Linked DNA regions of Homo sapiens: region 2 is linked to region 1. The links are contacts of gene promoters, found by promoter capture Hi-C in human tissues and cell types (Jung and others, 2019). All regions are on one chromosome and are shown on one strand. The core of a region is centred on a gene start or on the middle of the fragment in contact, and the rest is flanking DNA. Distances in the headings are between cores, read along the strand shown. Region 1 holds the start of DUSP18 (dual specificity phosphatase 18). Region 2 overlaps OSBP2 (oxysterol binding protein 2).

Region 1 (5,172 bases), core at 1,263-3,762:
GCTTCTCCATGCTCTGAAGGGCCTCAGGTGAACCGAGCCACTTACAGTTCCTTAGGGACAACCTGTCCTCTCCAGCCAGTGGCCTTTGCCCCTGCTGATCTCTCAGTCTCTTTCCTTATGAACCCATCAGATCCTGATCTGGTCCATTCAGCAGAGGACTGCAGAAGTCTGAGGAGCCTTAAGATATCAACTTAAAGGTAACTGTTTTAAGGGAAATCTCCTTAGATCACACCCCTCCCTCACGTTTGACCAACTCTGCTCCAGGCTTTCTTAGCCCTATGTTCTCTCCTTCCTAACACTTACTGAAGACGTAGTTTTGCTCCGATCTGTCTGATTATTTGATTAATGTCTGTCTCCCCAAGAGACTGTGAGCCCTTTAGGGATATGATGGTGTCTGTCTTCACTCCCACTCTATCACCAACTAGTGCCAAGCGCTGTGTCCCCACAAGTAGGTGCTTGATAAATATTTGTTGAATGAAGAAATGACTCCCAACAGCTATGACTCTGCCTTCTGAGAGGTTTTCTGGAAAGAATGAGTTCTCTGGCAGCGTGTCTCCAGAATTCCAGGGAGGGGCTGGGTGGGGATGGGGGTGGTTCTGAGGCTACTAAAGAGAAAGACCAAAGGTTGTATAGGCAAATCCTACCTGCCAATGCCCCAGACTCAAATGCATCAGGCTCATTCCCGGAAGGACAGAGAGGGCTGGCTTGCTACAGAGGTGATATGAAGGGCAAAGAAAAAGCCTCCTGAACCCAGATGGAAGTCTAAATGCTAAGGAATGTTCTGGATCCTCGTCATCAGAAAATCCATAGAGAAGTGAACTGATGTCCCCCCAAACCAGTGCCCAGTGGGTAACGGGAATAGAGGAATGTGCTGTTCATTATAGCCACTAAAAGTCTGCAGAAGTGACAATGCTCTTGCAGGTGAGGGTAGTGATGCGAGGAGTCATTTTCATGCTAGTTAAGAAATATCTATCAGGGCTGGGCACGGTGGCTTAAGCCTATAATCCCAGCACTTTGGAAGGCCGAGGCGGGCAGATCACCTGAGGTCAGGAGTTCAAGACCAGCCTGACCAACATGGTGAAACCCCCGTCTCTACTAAAAATACAAAAATTAGCCAGGCGTGGTGGCATGGGCCTGTAGTCCCAGCTACTCAGGAGGCTGAGACGGGAGAATTGCTTGAACCCGGGAGGCGGAGGCTGCAGTGAGCCAAGATCGTGCCACTGCACTCCAGCCTGGGAGACAGCGTGAGACTCCATCTCAAAAAAAAAAAAAAAAAAAAAAAAAGCAATCTCTATCAGGCACTGTATTAGGTGTTGGAGATACTGAAATGTACAAGACAGGCATGGCCCCTTTTCTCAGGGAGCTCAAAGACTAGTGGGAGAAACAGATAGTAAACAGGCAATTACAGGCAGACAGAGCTTGAAAATAGGATAACAGTACCTACCTTAAAAGGATGTTGTGAAATTAAACGAGATAATCCACGTAAAGAGTTTTCTCAGGGCTTGGCATAGAGTAAGCCCTCTCAAAATGATAACTATTTTTCTCGCTTCTGATAGGGAAGTTAAAATGCAGGGCTCTGTGAAAGGGAAGTGTAAAAAAGATTTCTTCCAGGTCGGAGCCTAGGGAGTCGCAAAGACCACCTGAAGAAATCACAAAAGATCTAAAGAACGTTTAGCTTGAGAGGGAGGAGGAGAAAAAAATAGCAACTCGGTAGCAGTTCAGCTTCACCACTTTACAGCCTATGAAGTATTTGGCTTCCCTCATCTGGTTCGATCTTCAAAGCAACCTAATCAGACCGGCGTCTAGAGTTAATATTTCCATTTTACAAAAGAGGAAAGTGAGACACAGCGCGGAAAAGGACTTGTTCAGAACGAGTCATAAAGCAAAGAAGCCGACCTTTATGGTCCATTATGTGTGGGAAAAATGAACAAACACCGCGGGGCGTTCGTGAAATACTAAGTTATAAACATGGAACAAAGTCCAAGAGTTAACGAGAGCGAAGCATCACTTCTAGGGGTGGGCCGGGTAGGTTTCCTAGGGGAGCTGGCATTGGAATAGGCTTCTTCGCCTGCTTAGTGTCAGGACCCCCAGGGTTTTACCTCTCTCCTTCAGGCGGGTGGGCGGGTTCGCTCAGGAAGTAGCCGCTTGGGGAAGCCTTAGGCAAGGTTCTTCGGGAGAGAGACCCGTCATGATCCCGCAGCCTCAATCCCCGCTGGCCTAACGCTTTGGTTTCCATAGCAATGGGCTCGTCGCAGAAAGGAATAGCCTGTGCCGGGTCTTCAGAGAAATCCTGGCCTCGGCTCCACGCCCCTGAGCAGCCCCACCCTGGCTCAACCTGTTACCCGCCCTGCCGGCAAGCCGGGGTCACTGCAGTCCCCGTGGCGAAGCAGGGTCAGCTCAGCTCACCGCACCCCACTCCATCCAGCCCTGCCCATCTCTACGGCAACGGGCCGGGTCGCACCAGGGCTGCAGCCGAGAGACAGTCTCACCGCTTCCGTAGCCGCCCGGGCTCTGTGCGCATGTGCGACACTCCCTCCCCGGCCCCGCCCCCTTATGCGTCTCCCAGGCAACGCGCCGCGCGGGGCTCCAGGTTCCGCCCAGGGACTAACTCCAGGTCTGCGCGCGTCCAACGAGCACGGCTCTCAACCGGCCTCCTGGCGCCCAACGACCATGGCTTCCAACCGGCCTCCGTGCGCCCAACGACCATGACTCCCAACCGGCCTCCAGTTTCCAACTGTTTCTCGAACAGGGAAGCCGCCATGACACAGCTGACTACGCCCTTGGTCACAGGGGACCTGAGATCCTCCACGATTTACGGGACCGGCGCCACCTCGGGCTCGAACCACCCTCTCGATAGGGCCGCCGCTAAGTAATCGGCGTAGGGGTTCAGCCGCACATCTCCTTCCCGCGCCGCGGACCGAGCAGTCGTTGGTGCTCTTCAGGTGCGGCCTGGGTGCCCAGAGCCTTCGTTAGACTCTCGGACCCGCAAGGGAGCCCGAACTCTTTCAGACTCGCTCTCCCTCAGCCGGACCTCGGCCCTTTTTCACACCCCAGGGGAGTCTGGATTTCTCATAGTCCTGGGCACCAGCCCCTTCCCAGTCTAGCTCTTGGGACTCCCTGAAGCCGGAACTCCCTCGCCTGGACTCCCGGGAGAACCTGGAATCCCCATCTCCAGTCCACATTTTCTCAGAATCTGTCCTAGCCCTTCAGTCTCCCAGGCATGACATCGTGTGGTCCCAGCGCCCTAGGTGGTGAGCTGTGACTCTCCTTAGAGCCTGGCGAGGCCGAGGTCCTCCCCAGCTCGAACCCATCCCACACTCCCCTTCTCAGCCTCTGTGTTCCCCAGTGGTCCTGGAAAAGCCCCCAGTTCCCTCTGCCTGGCCCCAATCCTCACAAACCCAATTACCCACGCTCCTTTCCATTCCATAACCCCCATCACTGCATCCTCCAGGCTCCCATCCATGGAGGACTTGAGGTGGAAAGCAATTTGGTTCAAAATAACCATTATTTATTACTTGAAAGGGAATATTTCCAGTCGTTGCCAGCCTCCTCCCCTTCTAGTATTGGTAAATTTTTTGCACCACTGAGTGGGTGAAGAGTTTTATGCGTCTTTAAATGTTTTAAGGATTTTTTTAAAAAAACAAAAAACTCTCAGGATTTGGGGGACTTTTGTGTTTGAGCATCTTGATCTCTAAACCAGCTTTTTCCATCACCTCACACCTAGGCTATGCATAGAGGTCAGAAAAATGTAAATGAGAGATTGAGAAGTTGGATTGTTCATACTAGTTTGTAAATATGAAAACATTCACAACACTCCAGTTCCAAATAGGCTGAAAATGCATTAGAAAAACTAGTCCTTCAATATTTTTTATCCTTCTACAGTTGTCTTTTTTGACCCAATTATAAAAGTAGTGTACACTTATAGAAAAATGAGGACAGGCATGGTGGCTCACGCTTGTATTCCCACCACTTCACTTTGAAACGCTGAGGCAGTTGGATCACCTGAGCTCAGGAGTTCGAGACCAGCCTGGGCAACAGGGTGAAACCCCATCTCTACCAAAAATACAAAAAATTAGCCGGGCTTGGTGGCTCACCTGTGGTCCCAGTTACTCAGGAGGCTGAGGTGGGAGGATCACTTGAGCCTGGGATGTGGAGGTTGCAGTGAGCTGAGATTGTGCCACTACTCTCCAACCTGGGGGACAGAGTGAGACCCCGTCTCGAAGAAATAAAAAGAAGACAAGACAGGCCAGCAGCATAAGTGGCTAGGGACAATCACTGTTAACATTTTGGTGTATTTTGATCAGAATCCATTCATATATATATATATATATATATATATATATGTTACAACATGCTTATACTTAAAAAAGATACATCACAAAAGTTCACTTTTTAGTAACCTGCTTTTTTCTCCCATCTAATATACCACCCGTCTATGTTTCATACACAATTACATGTATTTTATTTTATGACATACCAAAATTTATTCAATTGCTTCCATACTGTAGATTTTGTTTCCGCATTTTAGAAAGAAAATATGAACAATTTTTTTTTTGAGACAGAGTCTAGCTCTGTGGCCCAGGCCCGAGTGCAGTGGCACAGTCTTGGCTCACTGCAACCTCTGCCTCCTGGGTTCCAGTGATTCTCCTGCCTTAGCCTCCTGATTAGCTGGGATTACAGGTGCTCACCACTACACCCGGCTAATTTTTGTATTTTTAGTAGAGATGGGGTTTCACCATGTTGGCCAGGCTGGTCTCGAACTCCTGACCTCAAGTGATCTGCCCACCTTGGCCTCCCAAAGTGCTGGGATTATAGGCCTCAGCCACTGTGCCTGATCCTGAAGAATTATTTTTAAATGGGCAAAACCATTTAAAGGTATTTATTTGTAAGACTACTTCATGGTGTAACCAAATTATCAAAAAGTGAAAATGCAGTGCTTAGAAGTATATCCACTCTTCAGCATTTCCTCATTTTGACCAGATTGTTATATTTTCACCTGGAGTACCTAGCTCCATTCTACCCCACCCCACCCCATGTTTCACCTCACCTTTCAGAGTCTCCTAAAACCCCTGTCCACCCCACACCTCCCTATTCTAAATTTTCCCCAAACCTTCTTCTGGAATTCCCCTATTAACCAGCCTAACATCTGTCCAAACTCTTACTTTTATTTCT
Region 2 (5,070 bases), core at 1,353-3,852, 220 kb after region 1:
TGGGGTGGGCGAGTCCCCAGGCAGGGTGCCCCAGTGCACAGCCTTGGGGAGCCTCCCACCCTTGGAGGTGTTCTCCTGAGGCCGCCTCAGGACACCCCCGTCTCGCTCCCACTGCTGTCAGTCCCACCCCCCGGTAGGTGTCACTTGGCAGCAAATGTCTGGGAGCAGCTGCTGATTCAGGGGCATTCCTGGCACAGTCGCTGGAGAGACCGACCCAATGGGCAGGCATCTGAGCGGTTCTGACTGAGGGGCAGGCCGTTGCCTGGGAGAGCGATGCTGCAGAGGTCTGAGGAGTGGTGGGAGTTAGTGGTTGTGGCCTGGGCACCAGGTGCCAGGGCAGATGCGGGAGGGGATCCATGAGGCACGTCTGTTGAGTGCTCCCTCGCCCTGCCTGCCACATCACCTCCTGATATTTCCTCAACAGCTGCCTTGTCCCTGTGTCACAGGTGAGGACTGGTGTGCCCATCTTCCTCCTTTGGGGTGGGACAGCCTGTGATGTGCATGGAGCTCAGTGGGTGCTCCAGGTCAGCTGGGGCAATTGGGTGGGGAGGAAGTGCTGGGGAGTGGCAGCTGGGGCCACTGATGCAGATGCGGGCCAAGGAAACGTCCCTTCCTACTGGCTTCAAGAATGTGTCCAGAAAGGGCAAATCCAGAGGTTCCTAGATTTGATCTCACTGCCCTCCAGGGACAGCTGAAGCCTGAGCCATCCTCTCCACTGTAATGACAGGGCAGAATGACCAACCCCTGCTTCAAAACTGGTGGTGGAACCATCTGTGGACCTGGGAAGCTGAAAAGATTCTGGATGTCTCAGTAGGCCACAAGCTTGAAGGGAAAACCTTAAAAGCAGTTATGTGATTCAGACTCTGATGTAGCTTGGTAGAAAGTGCCAGTCCCACTTCTGCCAGACAAGACCAATTACCTCTCTGAGCTGGGGAGGATAGCAGAACGTGGCTTTCCTTCCTTCTGTGCCACGGCCAGGGACTGGCCCAGGGTAGACAAGGGCCAGTGACAAACCTGAGGCCTAACACTGCAGGGAGGACGTGGCCGCAGAATGCTCGGGCCCTACCATAATGAGCAACAGCAGCCACCTCAGCTCCAGGCTGAACCAAACCAGCTGCTGCTGGGGAGGCAGCGTGCAGACCCGTGGCACCCAGGTTTGCTGTTCCCCAACTGGCATCCTGACCGTGGGAGGCCAACCAAGGTGGGTGCTGGTTGCTGGGCGGGCTCTGAGAAGGCCAGGGTTCCCACATCCCCAAGGAGGCCAAAGGGGGCAGTAAGCATGTTTGTGACCATCCCAGCAGAGGGGGCAGCTAGATGGCCCCCAGGGCCTTCTTCACTGCAGGTGTCAACAAAAACAGACTCTGCAAAATATTTGAAGAGATTTATTCTCAGCCAAATATGAGTGACCACAGCCATGACATAGCTCTTGGGAGGTCCTGAGAACATGTGCCCAAGGTGGTTGGGGCGCAGCTTGGTTTTATATATTTTAGGGAGGCATGAGGCAGCAATCAAATACATTTAAGAAATACATTGGTTTGGTTCAGAAAGGCGGGACAGCTCAAAAGCAAGGTGGGGAGGGGGCCTTCCAGGCTATAGGTAAATTTAAACATTTTCTGGTTGGCACTTGGTTGAGTTGTCTAAAGACCTGGGATCAATAGAAAGGAAATGTTCAGGTTAAGATGAAAGATTGTGGAGACCAAGGTTCTTTTTAAGTCTTATAGTGGCTCCCCTTGGAGACAATAGATGACAAATGTTTCCTAATCAGACCTTTAAAAAGGTGCTAAGACTCTTACTTCATCTCTTCAGGGTTGGGAGGGCCTGGAAGAAAACGATCTAGCTCTGTGAATAGAGATTCTTTACAGATGCACGTTTTCCCCCACAAAGGACAGCTTTGCAGGGCCACTTCAAAATATGGCAAAGAAGCATGTTTTGGGATGAAATACTTTTTCTTCCTTGACTCGTAATGTTATGCCAGAGTCAGGTTGGAAAGTAAGTCACGATATATAGGGCTAAATAAAGCCCATCTGATGAGAATGTATGGTTTTTAGGGCATGACTCCCCAGACGCCTTAGATAGGAATTTGGGCAAGATAAAAAATATCAGAGCTTAGTCCTCACAGGGAATGGAGGTGGGGGAGCAGATGTGTTATAGGAAAGGGGTCCTGATCCAGACCCCACGAGAGGGTTCTTGGATCTCACACAAGAAAGAATTCAAGGCGAGTCTGCTGTGCAAAGTGAGAGCAAGTTTATCAAGAAAGTAAAGGAATAAAAGAATGGCTACTCCATAGATAGAGCAGCCCCCGGGGCTGCTTGTTGCCCATTTTTATGGTTATTTCTTGCTGATATGCTAAACAAGGGGTGGATTATTCATGCCTCCCCTTTTTAGACCATAGAGGATGACTTCCTGATGTTGCCATGGCATCTGTGAACTGTGGCGCTGGTGGGAGTGTAGCAGTGAGGACGACCAGAGGTCACTCTCGTCGCCATTTTGGTTTTGATGGGTTTTGGCCGGCTCCTTTACTGCAACCTGTTTTATCAGCAAGGTCTTTATGACCTGTATTTTGTATCTCATCCTGTGACTTAGAATGCCTTAGCTGTCTGGGAATGCAGCCCAGTAGGTTTCAGCCTCATCTTACCCAGCTCCTGTTTAAGGTGGAGTTGCTCTGGTTCACATGCCTCTGACAGATGGGCCCCTGCCAGAGGCCAGGGTCTCATACCGCCACTCCTCCCTCCCCAGGCCTGCAGGGACTTCTTGGAACTAGCAGAGATACACAGTCGGAAATGGCAGCGGGCACTGCAGTATGAGCAGGAGCAGCGCGTGCACTTGGAGGAAACCATTGAGCAGCTGGCGAAGCAGCACAACAGCCTCGAGCGGGCCTTCCACAGTGCCCCTGGCCGGCCGGCCAACCCCTCCAAGAGCTTCATTGAGGGTGAGTGGGCAGCCAGGGCAGGGCTGTCCCATGACCTTCTGCCAGCTGGCTCTGCATACACAACTTCTGCGCCCCCACATGCACATCCCTGGCTGTGCCCACATGTGGGCTGGCCTTGGCCAACTCTTGACTGCCTCTTCGTGGTTTTGTATCTCCCATGTCCATCACCCACTGGCAACAGTTTGTCTGCACCTAGGTTCACATTCTCAAGAGTTAAATTTAATGAGCCCAGCTGTCCCCTGTGTGACAGGGGTGTCCTGGTGCCAGGTGGCCACCCACCTAGCCTTGGGTTGGGGGTCATGGGGACCCTGGACAGGGGTCCATCAGAAAGGGAAGCTGGGCCACAGAAAGACTGACCCACATGTTGAGAGATCGGGGGGGCTTCCAGAAAGAGGCTCCTGTGCGGTGAATGCGTTGAAAGCACATGATTCTAGCAGAGGGAGCAAGGGTGGCCGCAGCCCAGGGAATCAGGGCTGCCCAGGTGACTGAAGCAGGAGGGGAGTGAGGCCAGATGGGGGTTGGGGGAGCCCTTGGCTCTGGACTTAGGGAGGCGAGATTGAGCCTTTTGTGAGGTTACAAATTAAAGCTCTGTCTGTGTCTCTAGGAAGCCTCTTGACTCCCAAAGGAGAGGACAGTGAGGAAGATGAAGATACCGAGTACTTTGATGCCATGGAAGACTCCACATCCTTCATCACCGTGATCACCGAGGCCAAGGAAGACAGGTAAGGTGGCTGCAGCTGGGCAGAGCCTCCCCCACCCTGGTCTTAGGCTGCATCTGGTCTTTTCACCAGCTATCTAGTTGTCTACTTGGGGTTTTCTTTCCTTTAAATCTTGCTTTGGCCAGGCCCAGTGGCTCCCAGCACTTTGGGAGGCCAAGGGTAAGAAGATTGCTTGAATACAAGAGTTTGAGACCAGCCTGGGCAACATGGCGAAACCCTGTCTCTACAAAAAATACAAAAACTAGCCAGGCATGGTAGTGCAGGCCTGTAGTCCCAGCTACTTGGGAGGCTGAAGTGGGAGGGTCGCTTGAGCCCAGGGAGGTGGAGGCTGCAGTGAGCCATGGTCATGCCACTGCACTCTAGCCTGGGCAACAGAGAGACCCTGTCTCAAAAAATCAATAATCTATCGGTCTTGCTCCAGATGGGATTTCATTGTTGTGTGAGCCTCATAGAGTATACTTACACAAACCTAGCTGATAGAGCCTGCCACACACCTGGGCTATATGGCACAGCCTATAGCTCCTGGGCTACAAACCTGTACAACATGTGACTGTACTGAATATTGTAGGCAATTGTGACACAATGGTTAAGGATTTGTGTATCTAAACATAGAAAAGGTATATTAAAAATACGATATGATAGTCTTATGGGACCACTGTCATATACACTATCCACCCTTGAAATGTTGTTATTGCGGTGCCTGTCTACACACAGAACACACGGCAGTGACCAGGACATTTACTAGCAATGAAAATGATGTTGTCTGGAGAGAGGATGGGCCAGGTCCCAAGGAGACCTCGGGATTCATTAGTAACTTGCCTCCCGCTTTGTATTTCCAGCAGAAAAGCTGAAGGTAGCACCGGGACAAGTTCCGTGGACTGGAGCTCAGCAGACAATGTAAGTGAGGGGGAGCACTGTAAGGGCCAGAAGGCAGCTTCTGGCCTAGGGGGTGGGAGGGACAGGCCAGCACCAAGAACTGGGGGCCAGCAGGCAGGCCCATGCCCCAGTCCAGGAGCACCATCCTGGCCTTCCACCAGCAGCGTACCAGTGGCCGGCTTGGTGCCAGTCCTCAGGGTGGAGGGCAGAAACTTGGAAGCCAAGGGGGCGCTCTGGCCTCTGCTGACGGTGAGGGGGTCCCCACTTATGTGGCAGGTACTAGATGGTGCCTCGCTCGTGCCCAAGGGTTCATCCAAAGTCAAGAGGCGAGTCCGCATTCCCAACAAGCCCAACTACAGCCTTAACCTCTGGAGCATCATGAAGAACTGCATCGGCCGGGAGCTCTCCAGGATCCCCATGCCGGTGGGTGGCTCGGGCAGGGCAGCCCCGACAGGTCCTCTGGGGCTGCTTTCCTGTGCGTGGATGAGCAGTAATGGCCTGTGTGAAGTACACACAGCCTTGGAGTGTCATTTTCTTAACGGCACC

The links. The method cuts DNA at HindIII sites, captures the fragments that hold promoters and counts their contacts. A contact is called where the count stands out against the background at its distance.
Region 2: a contact is called between a fragment that was not itself captured here and the fragment with the promoter of DUSP18 in region 1, in 1 of the 25 tissues and cell types used here (dorsolateral prefrontal cortex).

What each region holds. Positions count from the first base shown.
Region 1 is chr22:30,665,363-30,670,534 of GRCh38, forward strand. DUSP18 (dual specificity phosphatase 18) reads right to left here and starts at 2,513. Exons shown (of 2, transcript NM_152511.5): 1 at 2,100-2,513. It also overlaps a transcript of SLC35E4 not described here. RefSeq lists an enhancer at 2,611-3,000. The HindIII fragment of the contact is 10,031 bases long and covers 1-5,172 here.
Region 2 is chr22:30,884,690-30,889,759 of GRCh38, forward strand. It overlaps OSBP2 (oxysterol binding protein 2), which reads left to right. Exons shown (of 14, transcript NM_030758.4): 4 at 2,737-2,929; 5 at 3,534-3,651; 6 at 4,488-4,545; 7 at 4,801-4,947. It overlaps LOC107985544 (a long non-coding RNA gene), which reads right to left. Exons shown (of 3, transcript NR_146603.1): 3 at 1,367-5,070. Among named protein-coding and RNA genes, the nearest start is that of MORC2-AS1, 35 kb to the right of the region's middle. RefSeq lists an enhancer at 1,323-2,020. The HindIII fragment of the contact is 5,521 bases long and covers 1-5,070 here.